Linked DNA regions of Homo sapiens: all the other regions are linked to region 1. The links are contacts of gene promoters, found by promoter capture Hi-C in blood cells and fetal thymus (Javierre and others, 2016). All regions are on one chromosome and are shown on one strand. Each heading gives the region's core, a stretch centred on a gene start or on the middle of the fragment in contact. The rest is flanking DNA. Distances are from core to core; before and after follow the strand shown.

Region 1 (4,282 bases), core at 53-2,552:
GGGAAGGGTCTGCAGGTTCCATGGGTGACAGCCTGAGATCTGTCCCTTCAACGGGCTGGGCTGGGTATGTGCCTACCGATGACAATGTGTAAATAAATGCGTGTTCACACCCACAGCTGGCTCCGTTACTCTCCTGAGCTGGGGGTGGGGGGATCGGGGCCGGCTTCTCCCCTTGCACGCCGTGGGGAGATGGCCGCGGACGAAGGGCACCGTCTGCAAAGCACTGAACCATCAGGGCCTTCCCTGCAGGCCGAAGGCCTGCGCGAATGTCGGCCAGTTACTATGGAGACCGGCCCGCGGTATCCCAGCATGCCTCGGGACCAAACTGTCCAACTGTGAGCATCCCCGACGGTCGCCTCCTGATGACGCACACGGAAGCACCGATAGGCTCTGCCTCCCGAAGAAAAGGGAGCCGCGCAGCGCCTACGGGAGTCCGGCGGCAGCAGCCGGTACCGGCAACCACGGGCAGCTCTCAGGGAATCTCCGTCGTGAGGCCAGAGGCTCCAGTCCCCGCGGTGCGTATCGTCATGCATGGCTTTTGGTTCGCCCTCTCCGGTTAGTCGAGCAGGGCCGGCACAACCTCCTCCTCCGAGGCCGAAGCAGAGATTTAACCGGCCTGACGCGTGCTGGGCTGCGGGCGAGCCAGTGATATTCCGGCCCGCTCCGGCGCATCTAGAAGGGAGCGGGAGGCCCCCTGGGCGCTGCGGAGAAGCTGGATTGACCTCTGCGAGAGTGGGGAGGGTCTGCCTTCCCTAGGGGCCTGCCCCGGAGGAGCTGCCATTCTGAAAAGATAAATTGCCTGTGTACAGCGCTTTACAGTGTGCTTTTCCATCCCTTACCACCTGTGAGCTCCTCAACACTCAGAGCAGGAATGGTTATCCGCTTTTTGCACCCGGGGTAAGGTGGGAAGGTTGTGACTTAACTCACTCATAATCAGAACCAGGGGGAGGAAAGAAAGGCTTCTGGAAGAGATAGACTTAAGCTGCATCTTACAAAGTGAATATACTAACAGTGAAGAGGCATTGCAAATGTTGGGAACTGAGGCTTGATAACGGGAAGATGAAGCTGGTTTAGAGAACCGAGCCTTTCAAGTCAGGTGCAGGTCATTAGTGAAATTGTTGAGGAATATGACTAAACACTCACCTAGGCCAGGCTTACTATACACAACTTGAACTGGTGTCAAGGAAAGCTTGCTACCATTACAGGGACCTGGGACTACCGAAAAGTAAAAACTAATGTCTGTCTCACAAAAAATTTTTTTGTTAAATTTGTATTTGCAAATCCTCCAGTCATCAAGTGAACCAGCACTGTGCTAGGTAAATAAGTTACATGTGCAGCCCCTGCCCTAGTGAGGCTCATAGACTGATTGCGGGGACAGATATGAGAACAGGCAAATAGATATAAACAAAGCTTCCTGGAGGGAGTGGTGTCTGCACTGTTCTAAAGGACTACAAAGCAGTGTCCAGAGAAGTTGGAAGAACACAATAAAATAGAAGCCTGCAGGAGGTTGAGAGATTATCTGCTGAGAGGACTGTTTTCTTCTTCTTAGGTGATCTCTTGGCAGTACTTGGCACTATCAGTGCAATTACTCCTTGGCAGTACTTGGCTTTCTTCTAAAACTCTTTCTCCACCACTTCGGGTTTTGCCTCCTCCTTTGTAGGGGTCTCCTCATCTGCCCCTTTGGTGACCCTGGGCGTCTTCTGATCGCACACATTGTGCCTTGCTGGTTGCACCTTCTCCTGTGGCATGAAGAACTTGCTGTATGCTGACGACCAAATCCCTGCAGCTCAGATTTCTCACTGAGACTTAGACCCATGTTCCCCCAGCTGCTTTCCTTCTCTTATTTCTGGGTCTTTGCTACTGACTCTACCTGGAATGTTCCCTCAATAAGTGCAGCTCACCCAGCTGGTCCATCTTTGTCTGGAAGCCTCCCTGCTGCATCGGGCTCCAGGTCCTGGTTATATACCCCTCCCTTATGCCCCTGGTCTTAACTCTCCTCCTATCATGGTTATAGTGTGCTCCTTTGCCCCTGTCTCCCAGGAACTTGTAAACTCCGTGAGGTCAAAGACATTCACACTTGGGCGCCTGCATACCATAGCGTCTGACGGTACCTAGCATATGTTAGATGTTCAATACATGTTAGATGAGTCAGTAAAAGAAGGAATGCTTACCAGTGTTGGATGTTGCCGAGCAGACAATTAAAATAAGCACTGAAAAATATTGGCATTAGCCACAAGGAAGTCATTGGTTAATGCTACGGGATCAGTTTCAGCTGAGATTGAGGACATCGAACAAGTGGGAGGTGAAAGTAGGAACAGCCAGTGTTCATGAGACCTTGAAAAGTGTAACTGTGAAGTGGCAAATGGAGCAGTTAGGTGGAATGGGTGAGGTTTTGTGTTTCTGTGTTTTGTTAATGCTAGGAAGTACCCAAGCACATCCAAAGTTTCATGGGAAGGAGGTTGCTAAGAGTTAGAAGCTGAAGACACAGAAAAGAGAGGGGAGCACTGATGACCTGCGGTCCAAGAGGAAGCAGAAGGAGATGGGATTTGACCCAGAGCACAATGAAAGACAAGGAGATTGTAACATTATCTGGAAGAGAAGCCGAGGACATTATAGGCAGAAGGAACAGCTGAGGCAGAGGGTGGATAGTGGAAGTGCAAGCACTAGCCATTATATGTTGGGATGAAGGAGCTGGACCGGTAGGTCAAGTCCAGTCTGGGAAAGACCTTGAAAGCCCCAGTTAGAAATTTAGGTCCAGTTTGGGTGTGGTGCGGGCGCCTGTAATCTCACTACTCAGGAGGCTGAGGCAGGAGAATCGCTTGAACCCAGGAGGAGGAGGTTGCAGTGAGCTGAGATCGTGCCACTGCACTCCAGCTTGTCAACAGAGCGAGACTCTGTCTCAAAAAATAATAAGAAGAAAAGAAATTTAGGTCCAGTTGCAAAGGCAGTGGAGAGTGCCCCCTGGGCCTTTCCTTTCTGTGGATCACAGCCTTGGCCAGTATTGCTAGGATTAGGATCACCAGTGACATCCAAGAGCAGGAGCAGTTCCACAGCTCCCAGCCTTCTGTGAGAGGTGCAGATGGCCATTTGCACCCTTGTCACCCAGTTTGTGCTCAAGGTGTGGCCAGGCCAGTTACTTCCCTGGCTTTCCCCATCTGGGATCGAGTTGTGTTCAGCATCCTGCTGCCTCTTTCCCCCTCTGAGCTGTGGGCAGCCATAAGTGATAGCTCCATTCCTTCTCCCAGAGTCCAGATGCCTGTCCAGCCTCCAAGCAAAGACACAGAAGAGATGGAAGCAGAGGGTGATTCTGCTGCTGAGATGAATGGGGAGGAGGAAGAGAGTGAGGAGGAGCGGAGCGGCAGCCAGACAGAGTCAGAAGAGGAGAGCTCCGGTGAGCCCCTACACACACAGACACACACACACACACACAGAGCCCCTACACACACACATGCACACACACAGCCCCTACACACAAGCATGCACGCACATGCACATACAGCGCCTACACACAAGCACATACACAGACCCTGCACACAAGCGCACACACGCACACACAGCCCCTACACACAAGCACGCACACACAGCCCCTACACACAAGCACGTATGCACACACACAGCCCCTTCACACAAGTACACGTGCACACAGCCCCTTCACACAAGCACGCACGCATATGCACACACAGCCCCTACACACAAGCACACACGCACACACACAGCCCCTTCACACAAGCATGTACGCGCACACACACACAGGCCCTACACACAGGCATGCATGCACACACACACATGCAGGACGCACATGCACACATGCGGGTACCCACCACTCCTCCCCAGAGCTAGCCCTTACTGGCCTCTTGTCCCAGAGATGGATGATGAGGACTATGAGCGACGCCGCAGCGAGTGTGTCAGTGAGATGCTGGACCTAGAGAAGCAGTTCTCGGAGCTAAAGGAGAAGTGAGCGTGGGGACACCTTGGGCTGGGTCTGCGAGGATCTGGGATGAGGAGGTGGTGGGCCTGGTACTGGGCAGGCGTGGTTGGTGCCCAGGAAGTGCGCGCCTAACACCGGGCTTGCTGTGGAATGGGTGCTGGGTATGTGTTTGCCCAAGAGCGATGGGTGAGCAAATGGGTGCACGGCTGCCTTTTTACCACGCAGGTTGTTCAGGGAACGACTGAGTCAGCTGCGGTTGCGGCTGGAGGAAGTGGGGGCTGAGAGAGCCCCTGAATACACGGAGCCCCTTGGGGGGCTGCAGCGGAGCCTCAAGATTCGCATTCAGGTGGCAGG
Region 2 (4,196 bases), core at 638-3,137, 1.2 Mb after region 1:
AGCTACTTGGGAGGCTGAGGCAGGAGAATTGCTTGAACCCAGGAGGTGGAGGTTGCAGTGAGCTAAGATCGCACCATTGCACTCCAGCCTCGGTGACAGAGCGACGAGACTCTCTCAAACAAAACAAAACAAAACAAATTCCTGCATGGCCATCTGTCCAACAACTGCCTGTCCAATCTTGAACTGGCACCACCCATGTTATTCATCCTTGTAGCCAAGGATAACTGTCTCAAAACAATTATGTAATACTCATTTTTCCTTTCCTTTATTTATTTTTATTATTTTTTTAGATAGAGTCTCACTCTGTCACCTAGGCTGGAGTGCAGTGGTGTGATCTCGGCTCACTGCAACCTCCGCCTCCCAAGTTCAAGCAAGTCTCCTACCTCAGCCTCCCAAGTAGCTGGGACTACAGGCACACGCCATCACACCCGGCTAATTTTTGTATTTTTTCTAGAGACGGGTTTCACCATGTTGGCCAGGCTTGTCTCAAACTCCTGACTCCAGGTGATCTACGCGCCTTGGCCTCCCAAAGTGCTGGGATTACAGGCGTGAGCCACCGTGCCTGGCCCATTTTTCTGTTAAAAACCTTTGTCTTCTTTTACCTCCCTGATAAGCACATAGTCTATACCCATTCCCGAATAAATATCCTTTTCTTTTAGAGTCTGTTATTTAGGTTGACATAAGATAGCACCAGTCTTTGGTTTTCCATGGTGCAGGGTACAGATGGGATGGAAAGGAGGCTCAGGTACTCTGAATGGTCTGCCTCTCAGGATTTCTGTGGGATGCAAAAGAGTATATGTACACTTCTGAAAAGTCAATCAAGCCTTTAGAAACTTAAGGCTTAACTTTCTGTCTCGGTTTTAGAAATAGATATTATTATATTGGCAGCGTGGCCTTGTTTGTACCTCCATGATTGCCTGGCTGGCCTTGCTAACCTAATCACATCTGTGACGGGATATAGTGATGTTTAATCTTATGATTGCCTTAAGAATTAAGGCAATCAGACGGGTTCGGCGGCTCATGCCTGTAATCCCAGCACTTTGGGAGGCCGAGGCGGGCGGATCACGAGGTCAGAAGATCCAGTCCATCCTGGCTAACAAGGTGAAACCCCGTCTCTACTAAAAATACAAAAAATTAGCCGGGCATGGTGGCGGGAGCCTGTAGTCCCAGCTACTCGGGAGGCTGAGGCAGGAGGATGGCGTGAATCTGGGAGGCGGAGCTTGCAGTGGGCCGAGATCGCGCCACTGCCCTCCAGCCTGGGCGACAGAGCGAGACTCCGTCTCAAAAAAAAAAAAAAAAAGAATTAAGGCAATCATAATTCCCCACGCACACTCATATGCTAGGACCCCGCCCCTTACCTGAAACGTTGTGGCTTATATAGACACTGCCAGGCACTGTGTTAAGTGCTCCCAAAGAGCACCCCAGTCTACCATTTTCCCTCTCGATTCTATATGTACACTCGGGACAAGTTCTCCTGATCGAAAACGGCAAAACTAAGGCCCCAAGTAGGAATGCCTTAGTTTTCGGGGTTAACAATGATTAACACTGAGCCTCACACCCACGCGATGCCCTCAGCTCCTCGCTCAGCGCTCTCACCAACAGCCGTAGCCCGCAGCCCCGCTGGACACCGGTTCTCCATCCCCGCAGCGTAGCCCGGAACATGGTAGCTGCCATCTTTACCTGCTACGCCAGCCTTCTGTGCGCGCAACTGTCTGGTCCCGCCCCGTCCTGCGCGAGCTGCCTGCCCAGGCAGGTTCGCCGGTGCGAGCGTAAAGGGGCGGAGCTAGGACTGCCTTGGGCGGTACAAATAGCAGGGAACCGCGCGGTCGCTCAGCAGTGACGTGACACGCAGCCCACGGTCTGTACTGACGCGCCCTCGCTTCTTCCTCTTTCTCGACTCCATCTTCGCGGTAGCTGGGACCGCCGTTCAGGTAAGAATGGGGCCTTGGCTGGATCCGAAGGGCTTGTAGCAGGTTGGCTGCGGGGTCAGAAGGCGCGGGGGGAACCGAAGAACGGGGCCTGCTCCGTGGCCCTGCTCCAGTCCCTATCCGAACTCCTTGGGAGGCCTGGCCTTCCCCACGTGAGCCGCCGCGACCACCATCCCGTCGCGATCGTTTCTGGACCGCTTTCCACTCCCAAATCTCCTTTATCCCAGAGCATTTCTTGGCTTCTCTTACAAGCCGTCTTTTCTTTACTCAGTCGCCAATATGCAGCTCTTTGTCCGCGCCCAGGAGCTACACACCTTCGAGGTGACCGGCCAGGAAACGGTCGCCCAGATCAAGGTAAGGCTGCTTGGTGCGCCCTGGGTTCCATTTTCTTGTGCTCTTCACTCTCGCGGCCCGAGGGAACGCTTACGAGCCTTATCTTTCCCTGTAGGCTCATGTAGCCTCACTGGAGGGCATTGCCCCGGAAGATCAAGTCGTGCTCCTGGCAGGCGCGCCCCTGGAGGATGAGGCCACTCTGGGCCAGTGCGGGGTGGAGGCCCTGACTACCCTGGAAGTAGCAGGCCGCATGCTTGGAGGTGAGTGAGAGAGGAATGTTCTTTGAAGTACCGGTAAGCGTCTAGTGAGTGTGGGGTGCATAGTCCTGACAGCTGAGTGTCACACCTATGGTAATAGAGTACTTCTCACTGTCTTCAGTTCAGAGTGATTCTTCCTGTTTACATCCCTCATGTTGAACACAGACGTCCATGGGAGACTGAGCCAGAGTGTAGTTGTATTTCAGTCACATCACGAGATCCTAGTCTGGTTATCAGCTTCCACACTAAAATTAGGTCAGACCAGGGCCCCCAAAGTGCTCTATAAAATTAGAAGCTGGAAGATCCTGAAATGAAACTTAAGATTTCAAGGTCAAATATCTGCAACTTTGTTCTCATTACCTATTGGGCGCAGCTTCTCTTTAAAGGCTTGAATTGAGAAAAGAGGGGTTCTGCTGGGTGGCACCTTCTTGCTCTTACCTGCTGGTGCCTTCCTTTCCCACTACAGGTAAAGTCCATGGTTCCCTGGCCCGTGCTGGAAAAGTGAGAGGTCAGACTCCTAAGGTGAGTGAGAGTATTAGTGGTCATGGTGTTAGGACTTTTTTTCCTTTCACAGCTAAACCAAGTCCCTGGGCTCTTACTCGGTTTGCCTTCTCCCTCCCTGGAGATGAGCCTGAGGGAAGGGATGCTAGGTGTGGAAGACAGGAACCAGGGCCTGATTAACCTTCCCTTCTCCAGGTGGCCAAACAGGAGAAGAAGAAGAAGAAGACAGGTCGGGCTAAGCGGCGGATGCAGTACAACCGGCGCTTTGTCAACGTTGTGCCCACCTTTGGCAAGAAGAAGGGCCCCAATGCCAACTCTTAAGTCTTTTGTAATTCTGGCTTTCTCTAATAAAAAAGCCACTTAGTTCAGTCATCGCATTGTTTCATCTTTACTTGCAAGGCCTCAGGGAGAGGTGTGCTTCTCGGGTTGGTGGTATGTCCCCTAGGAGAACAGTGAGGCAGAAAAGGCAGAAGCCTTTGGTATGGGGGGAAGAAATGGTAAACTACAAGAGAAATTTCCTGTGAAGAAACAGCTACAGATCCTGGGGGGCTTCAGATGTAAAATTGGGGTTATTCCCTATCCTAAGTAACTTGATCAGTCCCCCCAGGTCATTCTTTTTCATCTTCTAAACAGAGAAGGTAGCAGGAATCACTGTGGTGAGAGGTTTGTTATGGAGGCAGCAATAGAAGGGATGGGTGGGGGAAGAGGTTTGTATAGAAGGTGAACCTGGCCGTTCCCTGAACTTGGTACCAGCTGTGGCCTTAGAGTCCAGGGCAGGAATCTGGTCTGCCTTGGTTTTAGAAGTAAATATTATGTTGGGAGCATGGCCTCGTTTGTACCTCTGTGACTGCCTGGCCGGACTTGGTAACCTAATCACATCTGTGATTGGATATAGTGAGGTTTCAGTGTTCCCAAAAGTTGGGTTACCTCTGGGGCTGATTCAGGGTTCTCTTCTGGCAACTGAGCCTCCCAGCACTTCTGAACCCCACTTACTCATTCAGCTAAAGTTTCTGGACCTGCCAGTTCTTGAGAAATAGCATCCAACAGGGTAAAGCCCTTGGGCTGTGGACTTTGACTGCCTGAGTTTGGACCTTCTTTTTCTTCCTACTCCATTTACTGGGTGGCTGGCCTTTGAACTAACTACTAATTTAATCTCTGCCATCTCCAGGGCTGCTGT
Region 3 (4,076 bases), core at 1,150-3,649, 1.3 Mb after region 1:
TGAGGCAGGCCCAGTGAAAGAGATCTTAGGGCCCATGAGACAGGGGAGAAGAGACATGAGGAAGAAGACACTTAGGGCTCCTAGCCTAGCAATAGTCCCCAGACCATTGCAGGACATATGGACACATGTGTGTGTGCCAGAGCCTTCTCCTCCCCGTCCTGTTCCCTAAAATGTCAGTCTTCTTGGCTACCACCATCTAAGTCCAGGCAGGTGCTACCAAGCTGTCCAGCTCACAGGGGTAAGTTTGGGTAGGAAGAAAACGCCACCTCCCCTTTCAGTCCTTTCAATGAGTCCTCTCTGGGCCTGCACTCATCATATTCTTTGGGCTAATGGCTAATAATGAACAGTTTCAGAAAAGGTTCCTCGATACACACACAGGCACACATATACATGTACACATCCCTGGGCACAAATGTACATGTCCTTATAAGCACATAATCAAACACAAGTGGCATTCCCTATATCTACACTATGGGTACAGGAGCCCTCACACATACACATCTATACACTCACAGGTTTGCTAACAGGCACCCTCAACCATGCATTCTCTTGCACTCCCACAACACACCTGTGTTCATATGTTCACATACATACATTTACCCATTCATTCACCCCAAGTACAGATCAACACACTAACACTCATTTAAACACACAATGTACATTAAGTGCCTGCAAGTACACACATGCACTCACAAGGAGAAACACATATGGAGCTGACTCTTGCATGAGCTCCTTCAAAAACTGGAGCTAAGGCTCTTACCCCAGATTCAGGTCAAAGTCATGACACATATGTCTGCTGACTTCTTTTAGCTAACTTTAATGTGGGAAACTCACTTCCTCTCTGTTTAGCCTTGGAATCAGTGGTGGATCCTGAATATCTGAAAGCAACATGCCGGTCTGGCTAGCTAATAGTCACGGCCACCAGCATACCCGTAAGCTTGACTGGTTCTCGCTGAAACCTCCAGATTGGCAGGGCTTAATTTTTAGGAAAGAGGAACTAGGAGCTTTAATTTTTAGGAAAGACAGTGAGGCCTAGAAAGGAAGAATAACTTGCCTGAACTTACACAGCAGGTAAGGAACTTTAACAGGACTAGAATCTGGGCTCTGAGACTCGGGGGACTCACTGTCCTGCTGCTTGAGGAGGGCCTGGAAACCAGTCACCAAGCTGGCCCCTGAGGCTGGCCTGATCCCCCCGAGGTGCCAAGGCCTCACCATAGCAGACAAGGCGGGTCGTCTCTCGGCTGGCCAGGGGTATGTTGCACAGGCGGCAATTGGGGTTGTAGTCGCTATCTTGGAGCCATTGCAGGTAGGACTGGACGATGCACTGGAGTGGGAGAGAGATGTCACAACTGGTGCTGGGGCTGCTCGGCCTATCACCCCAAGGTCCGACTGTCTCTTTTTCTCTAGCCACAGAGGAGACTCATCCTTTCGTTTGTTTAATCAATAAATATTTATTGAGCACATACTGTGCACCAGACTCTCTCTTGGGAACGGGGGATATATCAGTGAACAAAATAAATCAAGTCCTTGCCCTTGTGGGGCTTACATTCTAGCGCGGGGCCCCTCATGGATTTGGAGGAAGCCAATACCGCCTTGCCCACCCAGTGCCCTGCTCAGTCGCTCCCCTGAAGGCCCCACCTTGGCGTGATTGGCTACCAGGCAGTGCTCGCAGACGTTGACCCGATGTTCGAAGCAGAACAGGTTGGTCACCTTTCTCTTGGGGCACTTACAAAGCCCCATGATCGATCCTGGGAAAGGGGCATGAGTTGGTAGGAAGTCAGGTTCTGGTGGCCACCACTACGCTCTCACCAGCCCAGTTTCCACTCTTAACTCCCCCAGACACCTCTCATATTCGCCCCGATCTCAGATTCCTGCCCACTGTCCCTCCTTATGCGGAGAAACACCCCCTGCATAAATCCCGCCTCCGGCGACCCCTCAATCCTTCTGGATCCCGCCCCCGGCCAGGCCCCTCCATCAGAGGCTCCCCGATACTACCGGCCCCGCCCCCAAGACCTCTCCTGAGCCCCACCCCCTCCAAGTCCCGCCCCTTCTCTACAGACCCCAGTCTCTGTGTTTACTGATCGGCCGCTGCACTGGTTCCGAAGGGCGGTAGCGATGGCTCGAGGCGCGGAAGGGCAGGGACCACTCTCCCCAGGGCTCCTGCGCCTCTCCCTTCAGCCCCGGCCGCCCCGATTATCCCTCCGCTGCCACGTCTCTTCCGGGTGCGGCGCGCGCTGATGACGCCATCGCGCCCCTGGGCCACGCCTCCGCTGCCGCTAGAGGTGAAGACGGGTGGAAAAGACTCGGGGTTCCGAGGGCCGCAGACCGCTAGCCCTACGTCACTTCCGCTTCCTTTCCCGCAGGGCGGGTAATTCGAACGTTTTTTGCAGCGAGTGGCCTTCCCGGTTGGCGCGCGCCCGGGGCGGCGGCGCTGGAGGAGCTCGAGACGGAGCCTAAGTTATGTCTGGGAGGCGAACGCGGTCCGGAGGAGCCGCTCAGCGCTCCGGTGAGCGGAGGGCGCGCGGGAGACGTGAGGTCGAGCCGTTTGGGGGACGCAGTCCGGTGAAAGATGGCCTCTTCCCTCCCGCTGCCGCCGCCGGAGGAGGCGCCCTTAAAAGGGCTTGTTTGGGAATCTTCTCGCTGTCTCTAGAACCTGTTCTCTGGACTCTAAGGTCTAGAGTCCTCCTCTACCACTTAACTTTTTTCTCTTTCCAGGGCCAAGGGCCCCATCTCCTACTAAGCCTCTGCGGAGGTCCCAGCGGAAATCAGGCTCTGAACTCCCGAGCATCCTCCCTGAAATCTGGCCGAAGGTGAGCCCCAGATTTCTCACTTCCTCCCCTTGTGGCCCCTCACCTAATGTTGAGCTCACGTTCATCCCTCTTCTCCAGACACCCAGTGCGGCTGCAGTCAGAAAGCCCATCGTCTTAAAGAGGATCGTGGCCCATGCTGTAGAGGTAAAGGCTAAGGAGAGTGTTGTGGGTGGTTAGGCGGGCAAAACTGGGGACCAGCTATGTGATCAATTGGTATTGTCCCCCGCAGGTCCCAGCTGTCCAATCACCTCGCAGGAGCCCTAGGGTGAGTTCACTTTCATCTACTTAATTAAGTAGAATCTGGGTCACTCTAGAGCTGGACAGCACACATTGGCTCCTCACATCTGCCCAGGGAGCTGTTTTGCAGTACTGCAAAAACAGTTTGCCTGTGGGCACCTGCATGCATTGCCAGTCTTGATTACTCCCTGAAGACTTAATACACTTAACTTTTTATGCCTTGTGTATTTCTACCATTTTCCTGGAACTTCCTTTAAAAGCTGAGCTATGTCTTAACTCCACGTACTGCCTTTCTAATCCATTATGCCTTCAGCTTTCATGTATGGGTGTTCTGAGATAAGTCATGTGTATGACATTTTTACAGTTTTAGCAGAAGTTATTATCAAAGGATGTTTCATTAATAGACAATCTGAAGACATACTGACTGAGAAATGTGAACTCCTTTGAAGAGCTGATAGGGCTTAGAGTCAACTGGGGAGAAAGACCAATGACAAGTGATAGCAACGTTGTGTACTGGGACTGCAATAAGGAATACTAGATGCTATGATGGTAGCTAACCCAGACCATGTGGCTCAGGGAATGTTTCGTGGAAGAAGAAACATTTGAACTGAGTCTTTAAAGACAAGTAGAGGCCGGGTGCAGTGGCTCACGCTTGTGATCCTAGCATTTTGGGAGGCTGAGGCGGGCAGATCACTTGTGGTCAAGAGTTTAAGACCAGCCTGGCCAACGTGGTGAAACCCTGTGTCTACTAAAAATACAAAATTAGCCAGGCATGGTGGCACGTGCCTATAGTCCCAGCTACTCAGGAGGCTGAGGCAGGAGAATCGCTTAAACCCAGGAGGCGGAGGTTGCAGTGGGCCGAGATCACGCCCCTGCACTCCAGCCTGGGTGACAAAGCGAGACTCCATCTCAAAAAAAAAAAAAAAAAAAAAGACAAGTAGGTTTGTTCCAGGTCAAAGAAGCCATGTTTGCAGAGATTGGGAATTTAAAGAAAAATCAAGGTTCGGGGAATAGCAATTTGTTTAGTGT

Evidence for each region. The method cuts DNA at HindIII sites, captures the fragments that hold promoters and counts their contacts. A CHiCAGO score of 5 or more calls a contact.
Region 2: the fragment with the promoter of FAU here is called in contact with a fragment that was not itself captured in region 1 in 2 of 17 cell types (naive CD8 T cells and non-activated CD4 T cells); the score reaches 6.0 in naive CD8 T cells.
Region 3: the fragment with the promoter of CDCA5 here is called in contact with a fragment that was not itself captured in region 1 in 9 of 17 cell types (total B cells, naive B cells, naive CD4 T cells and 6 more); the score reaches 9.3 in total B cells.

Annotation. Positions count from the first base shown.
Region 1 is chr11:66,341,205-66,345,486 of GRCh38, reverse strand. BRMS1 (BRMS1 transcriptional repressor and anoikis regulator) reads left to right here and starts at 383. Exons shown (of 10, transcript NM_015399.4): 1 at 383-515; 2 at 3,246-3,391; 3 at 3,864-3,954; 4 at 4,154-4,281. The coding sequence starts at 3,253. B4GAT1 (beta-1,4-glucuronyltransferase 1) reads left to right here. Exons shown (of 2, transcript NM_006876.3): 2 at 1-113. RefSeq lists enhancers at 208-637, 93-643. The HindIII fragment of the contact is 221 bases long and covers 1,192-1,412 here.
Region 2 is chr11:65,119,825-65,124,020 of GRCh38, reverse strand. FAU (FAU ubiquitin like and ribosomal protein S30 fusion) reads left to right here and starts at 1,887. Exons shown (of 5, transcript NM_001997.5): 1 at 1,887-1,931; 2 at 2,200-2,282; 3 at 2,377-2,521; 4 at 2,985-3,040; 5 at 3,215-3,391. The coding sequence starts at 2,208. The coding sequence ends at 3,340. MRPL49 (mitochondrial ribosomal protein L49) reads right to left here and starts at 1,700. Exons shown (of 4, transcript NM_004927.4): 1 at 1,597-1,700. The coding sequence starts at 1,674. RefSeq lists enhancers at 1,410-1,679, 1,840-1,929. The HindIII fragment of the contact is 5,955 bases long and covers 1-4,196 here.
Region 3 is chr11:65,082,363-65,086,438 of GRCh38, reverse strand. It overlaps CDCA5 (cell division cycle associated 5), which reads left to right and starts at 2,399. Exons shown (of 6, transcript NM_080668.4): 1 at 2,399-2,506; 2 at 2,716-2,810; 3 at 2,889-2,954; 4 at 3,040-3,075. The coding sequence starts at 2,461. It overlaps ZFPL1 (zinc finger protein like 1), which reads right to left and starts at 2,217. Exons shown (of 8, transcript NM_006782.4): 1 at 2,061-2,217; 2 at 1,639-1,748; 3 at 1,213-1,324; 4 at 1-24. The coding sequence starts at 1,740. RefSeq lists enhancers at 914-1,498, 2,088-2,357, 2,438-2,667. The HindIII fragment of the contact is 9,431 bases long and covers 940-4,076 here.